Linked DNA regions of Homo sapiens: all the other regions are linked to region 3. The links are contacts of gene promoters, found by promoter capture Hi-C in blood cells and fetal thymus (Javierre and others, 2016). All regions are on one chromosome and are shown on one strand. The core of a region is centred on a gene start or on the middle of the fragment in contact, and the rest is flanking DNA. Distances in the headings are between cores, read along the strand shown. Region 1 holds the start of SUMO3 (small ubiquitin like modifier 3). Region 2 holds the start of UBE2G2 (ubiquitin conjugating enzyme E2 G2). Region 3 holds the start of SLC19A1 (solute carrier family 19 member 1).

Region 1 (3,694 bases), core at 565-3,064, 720 kb before region 3:
TAAAGGACATTTATATTTGACCTAGTTTTAACAAGTATTTAAATATTCAAACAACCCCAGAGTGGGAGAACTTTGACTTCACTGGAGTCAAAATGTAAAAAGCAAAGGTCACCCCAAATGCCATCTGGATAGGGCAGGTTTCCCTGGAGTCTGACCACAGCAAGCAGAGTGCAGACTTCCATAGAGGCCGCGACCATGGTTCCTGACGGTTCCATCCCACTTCCCGCCAGTGTCTGGCACTGAGCCTCCACCCTCATCTGTAAAGGGAGGGTGGTCACCTCCAGGACCAGGCCAGTATCAGAGACAGCCTCTTTACAGAGCCTTCAGCTCTAGTCATCTTCCACTGGGATGTAACATAGAGGCCGACAGTGCACACCAAGGGCTTCGGAAAGGTTCTCTTTTTATGAACACTGGAGAATGCGACTACAGACCCTCCCGAGAAGGAATGGCCAGTGCACCTGAATGCAGGGTGCATACCCCAGGACTGAGACTGGAGGGAGGCACACCCCAGCATGGCAATGGGGGAGACTAAAGCCCACCCAAGGCTGGATAAGGAGGGGTGGGCGCGCATGGTGGGGGAGGCGCAATGCAGAGAAGTGGGCGCACACCGTGGGGCGTGATAGGGAGGGGTGGGCACACACTATAGGGGGCGTGATGGGGAGGGGTGGGCGCACATCGTGGAGGGGGTGATGGGGAGGGGTGGACGCACACTGGGGGTGTGATGGAAAGGGGGACGCGATGGATAGGGGTGGGCGCACACTGGGGGACGCGACGGGGAGGGGTGAGCACACACTGGGGGTGTGATGGAGAGGGCGACGCAATAGGGAGGGGTGGGCGCACACCAGGGACGCGATGATGGGGACGGGTGGGCGCACACCAGGTGGCATGATGGGGAGGAGTGGGTACACACCATGGGGGGCGTGATGGGGAGGCGTGGGCGTACACCGGGGGGCGCGATGGGGAGGGGTGGGCGCACACCGGGGGACGCGATGGAGGCGGTGGGTGCACACGGGGCGCGATGGGTGGGAGTAGGTGCACACTGAGGGCACGATTGGGGAGACACGAAGGAGAGGGGTGGGCGCACACTGGGGGACGCGATGGCCGGGACACGATGCGGAGAAGTGGGTGAATACCGGGGTCGCGATGGGCGCCCTGGAAGGACGGCAGTGCTGCTCACAGGGGCCAGGCCCCTCAGAGCGCGCCCCTTGGGGGTAACCCCAGACGCTTGTTCCCGAGCCGACTCCGTGCACTCGACACAGGATCCCGCACCCAGGGCGATGCCGGGGGAGAGGGCGACCCCAACCAGCAATGACTCAGGAGAGGAGCACGCAAAGACGCTTCGGGGACACTGCTGGGGCGGGATCCGAGGGCGCCGCGCTCTGCAGGAGCAGCAGCGCGGGGCCCGACACCGGGCGCTCAAGGAGGCGCTGGGCGCGCGCCTTCCCAGCTGGGGAGGAGACGGGCGTGGAGCGGAGGCGTGGCCAGGCCCGGAGGGGGCGGAGCTCGCGGCACAGCGCGCTTCGCGGGGGCAGAGGGGGCGCACCTTGGGCGGGCCCACTTAGGGGCGGGGCTCTAGAGGGCGGGGAGGGGCGGAGCCTGTCAGGGGCGGGACGCGGGGCGGAGTCGGGGTGGGGGCGGAGCCGGGCTGGGGGCGGGACGCCCGCGATAGACGCGCGTGCAGGCGGGGTCGCCGCGCTTACCTTGGGCTTCTCCTCGGACATGGCTGCGCGAGCGGCGCGGGGAGGCGGCGCGGGGGAAGCAGCGCGGAGCGGGCGAGTCACGCTCTCGGCCCCGCCGCTCTCCCGCCGCAACTGTGCGCGGGGCCGCGCTTTATCCCCCAAATCCCGGCGCACCCGTTGGCCGGCACGGGGGTCACGTGGCTGCGCGCGTTCACGAGGCGCGCTCCCCGGGGCGTCGGGCGCGCGCAGGCCGGGCCGCGGCTCTGGGCGGTTGGAGATGCGTCACGGGGCGGGTCCCGCGCGACCCCGTCGGGCGCGGAAGCCCTAGGGCGCTGTGGGGCGCGGGCCAGGAGCGTTTACGGGGAGCCCGGGCCCTGGGGACCCTTGCCCGCCTCCCCGCGTCGCCCGGGCCCCGACTCCTTTCCTGGGGGCCGCGTTCCTGGGGCGCCGGGAAGTGAGGCCGGGGCCGCCGCCCATGGCCGCAGGGACCTGGGGCGGAGGAGGGAGGACGCTGGGGGTGACGTTCCCTCTCAGGAGCCGCGGACAGAGCGGAGAAGGCGGCCCGCGGGGTCCCGTCCGCGGGGGCCGCGCGAATCGGGCCAGCACCCTAGACGATTGGGGGCGCCACCCGCCTCCCTGCCGCCGCGGTTTCCTGTCAGCCCCAGGCCGGGCTCCTTTGGCCAACGCTCCTACGGGGCTGCCCCGGGCCCTCCACACCCGTCCTCAAGAAGACCCGTTTTACCTGTGAAGAAACTGAGGCACTGGGAGGTCAAACCACCCCCAGGTCAGCGCTGGTGAGCGGCGCCGAGCTTGGCCAGGCCGCCACGTCGGCGAGCGCGGGCAAACCCAGGCTGGACGCCGCCAGTGCCGGCGGAACGGGGACCTCGTGGACGCGGGAAACGCGCTGGGCCGGCAGGACGGCCTCCCCGGACTTGCGGGCGCCATTCCTGGGGTGCCTGGCCCGCCCCGGCCTCCATGTCTGTGATCCCAGGGCCTCGGATGGAACGGACCTGAGGGCGGACACCCCTGCGTCCCTCAGGAGTGCCCGGGTGGTGCCAGCCGGGGCGTGGCGGAGGTCTCATCTGATGGTGAGCCCGGCCGAAGGCGGGGGAGGCCGCACTTCAGGCTCAGCTGGGAAATGGCAGGGCCTGGATTTGAACCTAAGCGTCTGAGCCGTTTCTGTCCTGCCTGGGAAAGGCTCAGCCAACTGAGCAACGTCGCAAAGCCATGGAGACAAGTCTTCATGGACCATAACTTCACAAACCGTCTTCTACTCAAAAATTCACTTTCTTGGCTAGAGCCCCCACTTAGGAGGGGGAAGGCTGCTGAAGTCTTTCGGGGAGAGGGTCTGAGAGTCAGCCCCAGTCCCAGGCAGGTCATAAGGTGTGGTCCCTTCCTTCTGGAACCTGGAGCCCAGGGCCTCAGCAGAGGATGTGGAGGTGGGTGGCCAGCTCAGACGGTCCTGGGAGGGGGCTCCGCAACCAGCCCCTTCCGAGGGGACGTGGCGCCTCAGAGCCCACAGATTGCTGGCCCTGGAAGTGCCCTAGGGCAGGCAGGGTTCAGAGAGTTATCGACTCCAAGACACCGTTAATCATAAAACAACACGACCGTAGGTAGCACAGACACACTAAACTCCGGCAGGCTGTGGATGACGGCAGCCCGCTTCAGTGTTGTGGAAGTGAGAAACACGCAGCTTAGAAATCATGAGACACAGAACCCAAATGTGTTACCGCTCGAAATTACGCCAGTTGCTGTGTCACGAAGTGATGCGTGACTACAGTCATGGATAAGGGAAAAAGAGGCTCAGATGACATTAGGTTTTAAAAAGCCAGGCTATAAGACAATGGTGGTCTGAATTCAATTCATGCTGTGTCTGTCTCCCACACTGTGACCTGCCCCGAATCCTTCATGTGACAGCAAAGATGCAAAAAGGCTCTGTCGCAGCTGTGGGGACACAAAGGACACCGCTGGTGGACCGAACGCCAAGAGGTTTCTGAAGGACACAGCCAAAGGGG
Region 2 (3,542 bases), core at 1,008-3,507, 740 kb before region 3:
TGCTCTCAGCCTTCATAAAACTGAAGAGTTAGGACCTTGCTCTGGATTAGGCTTTGGCTTAAAGGAATGTTATGGCTGGTTTGATCTTCTATCCAAACCACTAAAACTTTCTCCATATCAGCAGTAAGGCTTTTTCACTTTATCATTCATTGTGTTCAACAGAGCAGCACTTCTAATTTCCTTTAAGAACTTTTCCTTTGCATTCACAACTTGGCTAACAAGAGACCCAGCTTTCAGCCTATCTTGACTTTCAACATTCCTTCCTCACTAAACTTAATCATTTCTAGCTTTTGATTTGAAGTGGGTAGAGTGCAACTCTTCACTTCAACACTTGAGCCCACTGTACAGTTACTATTGGCCTAATTTCAATGTTGTTTTGTCTCAGGGAAGAGAGAGGCCGGGAGAGAGATGGGGAAACAGCCAGTCAGTGAAGCACACACAACATTTATTAGGACTACCATCTTTTATGGGCATAGTTTGTGATGCCCCAAAATAATTACAATAGTAACATCAAAGATTACTGATCATAGATCACAGTAATAGATTAAAATGTAAGAGAGAGACACGAAGCGAGCAAAAATGGTGCCAACAGACTTGCTTCCATGCAGGGTTGCTTGTAAAAAACTTGTAAACTTGTAAAAAATGCAAGATCTGCGAAGTGAAGCTCAATAAAGCAAAGCGCGCGGGAAACTGAGGTGTGCCTTTATGTTCTGCTTTAGCAGACACTAGGTGGCGAGCGTTATTTGAACGTTTACAGGAGGCCCTGTGTATCTGCGGCTGCATATCCATGGATTCGACCAACCAGGAATACAAAATATTTGAAAAAAATAACAATAAAAAATGACGATTTAAAAATACAAGTAAAAAAAATCAGTGTAACTATTTGTGCAGCACTTACATTGCATTAGGTACTATAAGTAACCTTGAGATGATTTAAAAGTTATGAGAGGCTATGCATACATTAAATGCAAATACCACGCCACCTTATAGTAGGGACTTGAGCATCCGAGGATTCTGGTATCTGCAGCGGGGCCTGGAACCAATCCCCTCCAGATACCAAGGGAAGAATGACCATACGTGAGTGAGCCTGTATTTGCAACGTTTTGGTCTGCTTAAGCCAAACATCAACTCTTACTGGGCGGTGTCACCAATAGTTTTACGAAATCAAGCTACATGTATATTCACCACTTATTTTTTTTCTCACATTCATTCTTTTAGCTTAACTTTCTTCCAAAATTATCCTCAATCTAATTACAAAAGCAGCAGCTAACTTTATTAAGGGTTACACATCAGGTATTTTGCTAAGCACTTCACCTGCAGTATCAAGTTTAACCTTTTAAGACAAGGAAACTGCAGAGACAGAGAGAGGAACAAGGTCAAAGAGCTAACAAGCAGAGAGGCCGGGTCTGAACTCAGGCCCTGCTCTTAGCCGGCTACTATCTCGTCTCCATCGGCGACTCAGGCTCCTGGCGCTTTCAACACAATGGTATTCCAAGACTTCTCGCAGCAGTTCTTCCAAGCGGGCATTCGGTGTAAAACGATGGAATGCCGAGTGTTCCTAGGTTCTCATTTCTCCCTTCGCTCTCCTCAGACATTAGAAATATCTAATTTACCGGGTAGGAAAGCACTCAAGAGGTTTCCTCAACACTACCTAGGAGGAGTGACAGGTGGCACTGTTCAAAAACCCTTTTCCTTCATTAGAGGGAAAGCCAAAATCTGACCTTTCAAAGCTCCACCAACGAGCCTTTCCCCTTTTAACGCATACACTTTTCCCTCCTAATTCCGCAGCAGCAAGTCAGGCCTTCTTCCTCAAGCTCTCACTGCACGTTCTCAAGGCTGCCAAGAAAAGAAAAAATAGAAGAGAAAAAAACAAGCCCGCAAAGACTCAACTGTGTGTGCTCTCAACTAACACGGCGCCGGCGCTGCCTTTACTGATGCTGGGAAGGCTTCTCTTCACGACTTCACGCGTGAGAGTGGGCAGCGGGCGCAGGGCGCGGCACTCCGCGGGACCCACAGGGGGGCTCACGGTGGAGGCCCCGGGCCCGGCTCCCCCGCCAGGCTCCCTGCCCCAGCCCCGCCGGACGACGCGGGCCCGGGAGCAGGAACGCGGGACGCTGCTGACGGCCCGGGTCCCCAGACTCACGTTTGTACTCGGCCATCAGCCTCTTGAGCGCGGTCCCCGCCATGGCCCCGCAACAGCTGCGCCGAGCGACCTCGCCTCAGCCGCGCGCGTGCCTCCTGCCCCGACACCGGGGACTGCTTCCGGGCCACCGTCGCGGGCCCAGGAACTCTTCCGGGGCGTGGCGCGTGCGCGATCGCCGAGGCGCGCTGTCCGGGTGGTGGGAGCTCAACCCGCGACCGCGGCTACGATTCTCTTGGCTCCTGCCCTCGCCTTAGTCGCTCTGCGGGGTTGGTTCGGTCCCGGCACTTCCAGAGGCCTCAGGGTCCTGGTCTTGTAGAGACTTCCTGAACGGTGGCGCCTGTTCCAGTGTGTGTGCGCTAACTGCCTGTTCTGTGCCAGCCGCGCGTGGCCGAAGGGCGGGAGGACGGGGGTTGTGGAGGGGAGGATGGAGGTTGGGGAGACAGGGCGGGGACGAGATAAGAGGTCGGGGGGTGGGGAGGATGGTCGCGGGGCGGTCTGGGGCTGGAGACAAGGGGCCTGAGGTGCGGGTACGCACTGAACATTCCAACCGTCCCCAGCCGGCCGGGTTTCAGGTTTGAAAAGGTGGGAAGGTTAGCTGTCCTGGCGCTTTTCCTCCACGTGTTGTGCGGCTCCGCTGGAGTTCGGGTCCAGCACCTTCTACTCCGAGGGAGAGAGCCGCGGGGAGAGCCCTGTTCGGGCCCGCGGCTCGAACTGACCGCCGGCTCTGCCGAGCAGCCTCGACCCCAGGGCACCCCCGGGAGAGAGGGCGCGGCTCAGGTCCCTGCCCGAACCCCTGGGGTGCTGAGAGACTCCCCAGCGCCCCGCGTGGGCTCCCGGCCTCTCCACAGTTGAGGATCCTGTAAGGGGCGAGCCCTTTTTCCCATAATGGCTGTAGTGAGTGGGTGTGCTTTCCCGATTGACCCGCTGTGAGGTGAGCGATTTTAACCCACATCCTTACTGACTTCACAGCACAGTAGGTGCTTCGTGGCTGTCCGGTGCAAGGATGTATATACACACACACCTTTGCAAAAAAAGTTTGCATCTCTTGCCTGGCTGTTTGTTGCAATAATCTATCATTTGTCTTTTCCTTTCCAGCATTGCAGATGATCCCTTGAAAAGAAGTCTGATCACATTCACACTCTGCTCCGCCCATTTCACTCAGTAAAGCTGAAGTCCTGCAGTGCTTTGCTCTGCCTCCGGTCACCCCGCCATACTCCCAGACCCTCCCTCCCTCTCACTCCACTCCAGCTGCCCTGGCCTGGTTCAGAGTCCCTGACTCTTCCCTCCCCGGAAACACTTTCTGGCGGCTCTTGTCCCCGACTCTTCCCACCTGCTCTTTCAGTCTTTGCTCAAATGTTGCCTCTTCAGTGTGGCCTAGGCCGTCACCACCCGGCCTTCA
Region 3 (3,691 bases), core at 630-3,129:
CTTATGTGCCGTGAACGTAGCCCACTGACAGAGGCTTGGCCATCACGGCCCAGACCACCTCCAAGAGGAAAGATAGGGAACTTGGTCACCATCATAGAAACGCAGCCCCAAGCCAGGGGACGCCTAGACTCCAAGTGTCCAGACCCCAGCCCAGTCCCATACAGCTTGAGGCCTCTTCCCGGCATCTGAAGGAAGTCCCCGACCAGACAGGAGGGCCACGGGGAAGCAGAGAGAATCCCTGCCTTCAGGAGAAGGTTGTAACAGCCCCTGCAAATCCCCGGCCCCACTGTCCACAGTGACCAGCCCCACCCAGGCCCTGTCCTTCCAAGCACCAGAGAAGGCCAGAGACCCGCAATCAAAACACAAGCAAACGCCACCTATCATTCCGTGTTTAAACCAGCTCCTACTCTGGAAGGCTAACCAAGAATGTTCGTTATGTTTTTTAGAACGCCTGCTAGTTTAAAAAGAAGAAGAAGAAAGCATTGCACACCCTCCCACCCCTGTTCAGATGACCAAGTTCAGGGTTCCTAACAGCATAATTAGACCCTCCGGCTATCACTGCTGCAGGCCCAAACACCCGAGAAGCACTCTTTCTCATCTGTGTCCAGCAGAGATAACTGTACTATCTGGAATTATAAAAATCCACCAAAGCCCCTTCGGAAAGAAAGCAATTAGCAATTGCAACAAGCAGTGCACAGGTGGCACCCAGGCAAAGGCGGCCAGTGAGATGCAGCCTGGCTCCCAGGCCTGGACAGGGCAGGCAGGTGCACTGGGCCAGAGGCACCTCGGCTCTGCTGATTGAATCTGGGCTGTGCGGGGATCCTCGGGTCTCCGTAGGGGGAGGCCACCTCTTTACAGGGCGGCCAACAGGCGCCTCCAAGGACTTTATCCCACCTTCCCTCTGGATGCATTCTGGATTTCGGGGCCAGCTTAGTTGGCCTGTGTCCTGAGGCCAGGCAGGCCAGACTCCCCAGGACAGGAGTTTCCGATGGACAGGACCCTAGGGGGATGGCTTTCCTGCTGTAGCGGTGTTGGAAGGACCCACTCGGGAAAGGCTCCAGCGGCTGTCCAGGCTCTCTCTGAGACGCCTCGGGATTGCTCCGCTGGATCCGCACCCACAGCTGCTCCAAGGGGAAGTTGCACCTACAAAGCTTCTGGCACAGGAGACAATGGTCTGGAGATGTGCCAGGGGCCCGCCCCACGCGTGGCTGGCAGGGTTCACCCACCGGCTGGCCCGTCCCGAAGCAACACGTGCCTGGGCGCGAACGCCGGATCCACGCTTTCCTCCAGACCCGGGGGTGGGACTTGGCGCCCCAGGATGACGCGGAGGGCAGGCTGGGGGCCGGGACTCCCCACCCCATTCGCAGGCTGCGGCGGAAAGCGAGCGGCGGGAAACCCGCTGCACAGCAACGGTTCTGCCAGGCGCCCGGGCCACCGCGACCCCCGCGGAGACCCCGGCCCACGCCCCGCACCCTCCCCAGGGCCCCCCAGACCCCAGGCTGCAGACCGCAGACCCCGGCCACGCCCCGCACCCTCCCCAGGGCCCCCCAGACCCCAGGCTGCAGACCGCAGACCCCGGCCCACGCCCCGCACCCTCCCCAGGGCCCCGCGGACCCCAGGCTGCAGACCGCAGACCCCGGCCCACGCCCCGCACCCTCCCCAGGGCCCCGCGGACCCCAGCGCCAGCCCCCACACTCACCTCACAGGGCCCTGCAAACCTCGGCCCGCGCCCCGCACTCACCCCAGGGCCCCGAGACACCCCGCAGCCCCCGACACGCGGCCCCGTGGCCCCGTTCCCCACCGGTACCTGCGACTCGGCGGGGCGGCTGCCCTGGGGCTCCCGGACCCGGCCCCGCGCACGCGGACTCCGGGACTACAGCGCCCACAAGGCGGCGCGGCGGGCGCGCGGCTGCGGGGTGGGCGGGTCCGTCCCGCCGAACGCGTCCTGAGGGCGGGGCCTCGCGCGTGGCCGGGCGCTGCGGCAGGAGCGTCCCCACGGGGCACCCTCCCACCCACGGCCGTCTCCCAGCCCCGGCGCCGGCCTCTCCCCACCCGGTCACCGCCGGGGTCACGCGGCCCCTCGTGCTGCGGCCCTACCCCTGGGGCCGCCCCCTGACCCCGACCGCCCCTCGGGCCCCCACCCCCGCCGGCGTCAGCATCCTGGGGTGCCACTCGCGGAGGTGTCGGTCCCTCGGGCGGGCACCCTGCCATCCCTCTCCCCCGCGTTCTTCCCACCCCCGGTCCCCTCCTGACCCCCCCTCCTCGACGAGGCCTTGTGCGTTTTCCTTTTGGCACCCTGGAACACCTGCATTCCTGGCCGCAAGCTGGATCCGGGACGCGGGTCGGGCCCACGCGCCCTCAGGGGTGGCCCTGGGCCGCCTTCGTGGGGCTCCAACAGGGACACGCACAGCCTGCTCTTGGGGACCGCACGGCCCCGAACTCGGCGCCCCCGGGACCCCGCCGCCCGCCCTCCTGCCTGACCGTGACCCGTACGGGCTTGTACCAAGGAGCAAGCCGGATCCAGGACGTGGCCCGGGGCCACCAGTCCCCATCCCAGCAGGGACAGCCCGGGGGAGACCCGCGCAGGCCTCGCAGACGGCAGCGCAGTCACACTCAGGAAGGGGGGCCTGGGCCACTCTCCCAGGAAGGCGTGGGGCTGCGGCAGACAGCACCGCCGAAAGCCCAAGGCCTGTGCAGGACACGGGGAGAAGTGGGGGGCCTCAGGGTCACTTTCCCCTGGAGTTACCCAGGGCCTGGCTATGGGGAGGGAAGCCAAGCCGAGGGCTGTGGGGGCCCCAAGGCTAAGGAGGAGCCAGGAAGTCCACTGCACAGAACAGAAGGGGACGGCCACCGTGGTACCCACAGCTCAAGAGTGCGGGTCCCAGGCGAGGGGTGAGTCTGGGGCAGCAGCCCCTGGAATGTACCCCTTCCGGAGTGTAGACAGCACAATCCGCGACCTGCCTCCTGGTGTTGCGGGGGTGCTCTTGGTCTCCCGCCCACCAGCAGGGCAACCCCACCAGGAAGCCAACACAGGGCCCTTGCCCTAAATGGCCGCCTGCCCAAAGCTCTGGCCTGGGCCTTCTTTCCAGAGTCCTGAGTGTAGCAAGCCACACGAACAAATCTCAAAGGAACTTAAAAAGGATTTGTTGGCTGGAAATGGGGGATCTGGGGTAGCTTGCAGAATTTAAGGGAACACTACAGGATGGAGCGCCTCACCTGGAGGGACCCCCTGCTTTGTGGGAGCCCTGGCTCTCTCCCCTGTACTGGCCTTCTCCACGGGTGGGCAGAACCTGGCCCTGCTGGAAGACAGGAGGGGCAACGCGGAGGAGGAGGGGCCCTTCCTTCCCTCCAGGCAGAGAGGAGCCAGCCATGGGGCCAGCTCGCCAGGGCAGCCTGCTCCCTTTACACGCAGGACAGGCCAGGAAGCCGAGGGGAAGTGGGGATGAACAGCAGCGGGGCTCCTAGACCCCTTCCCACAGAAGGATGGCTCCCACCCCCTTCCCGCCTGGAGACAGCAAGGCAGGGAGCCACAGCCCCAAGGGGACCCCGCAGGACCCACAAAGACCAGTCCCTCACCTGTCTCTCCGGTCAGGTGTAGCCGAGCGAATCCGCCCCCGGCCGCGAGGGGCCTGCCCAAGCTGCCCTCGGGTCCCCCTGCGTGGCAGGAGTCCTGGGAGTTCCCCAGCCACAC

Evidence for each region. Contacts are between HindIII fragments. The CHiCAGO score rates a contact against its expected background, and 5 or more counts as called.
Region 1: a contact is called between the fragment with the promoter of SUMO3 here and the fragment with the promoter of SLC19A1 in region 3, in 4 of 17 cell types (neutrophils, monocytes, activated CD4 T cells and 1 more). The highest score is 7.9, in neutrophils.
Region 2: the fragment with the promoter of UBE2G2 here is called in contact with the fragment with the promoter of SLC19A1 in region 3 in 8 of 17 cell types (fetal thymus, total B cells, M0 macrophages and 5 more); the score reaches 9.0 in fetal thymus.

The regions. Positions count from the first base shown.
Region 1 is chr21:44,816,248-44,819,941 of GRCh38, forward strand. It overlaps SUMO3 (small ubiquitin like modifier 3), which reads right to left and starts at 1,815. Exons shown (of 4, transcript NM_006936.3): 1 at 1,701-1,815. The coding sequence starts at 1,721. RefSeq lists silencers at 1,347-1,546, 1,727-2,306, 2,327-2,426. The HindIII fragment of the contact is 14,551 bases long and covers 1-3,694 here.
Region 2 is chr21:44,799,563-44,803,104 of GRCh38, forward strand. It overlaps UBE2G2 (ubiquitin conjugating enzyme E2 G2), which reads right to left and starts at 2,258. Exons shown (of 6, transcript NM_003343.6): 1 at 2,144-2,258. The coding sequence starts at 2,186. LINC01424 (long intergenic non-protein coding RNA 1424) reads left to right here and starts at 2,679. Exons shown (of 2, transcript NR_109928.1): 1 at 2,679-3,074. RefSeq lists an enhancer at 1,484-2,439 and silencers at 1,987-2,046, 2,107-2,326, 2,827-2,876. The HindIII fragment of the contact is 6,659 bases long and covers 1-3,542 here.
Region 3 is chr21:45,540,561-45,544,251 of GRCh38, forward strand. SLC19A1 (solute carrier family 19 member 1) reads right to left here and starts at 1,880. Exons shown (of 6, transcript NM_194255.4): 1 at 1,808-1,880. RefSeq lists silencers at 1,314-1,373, 1,724-2,033, 2,074-2,153 and an enhancer at 2,008-2,520. The HindIII fragment of the contact is 3,738 bases long and covers 1,150-3,691 here.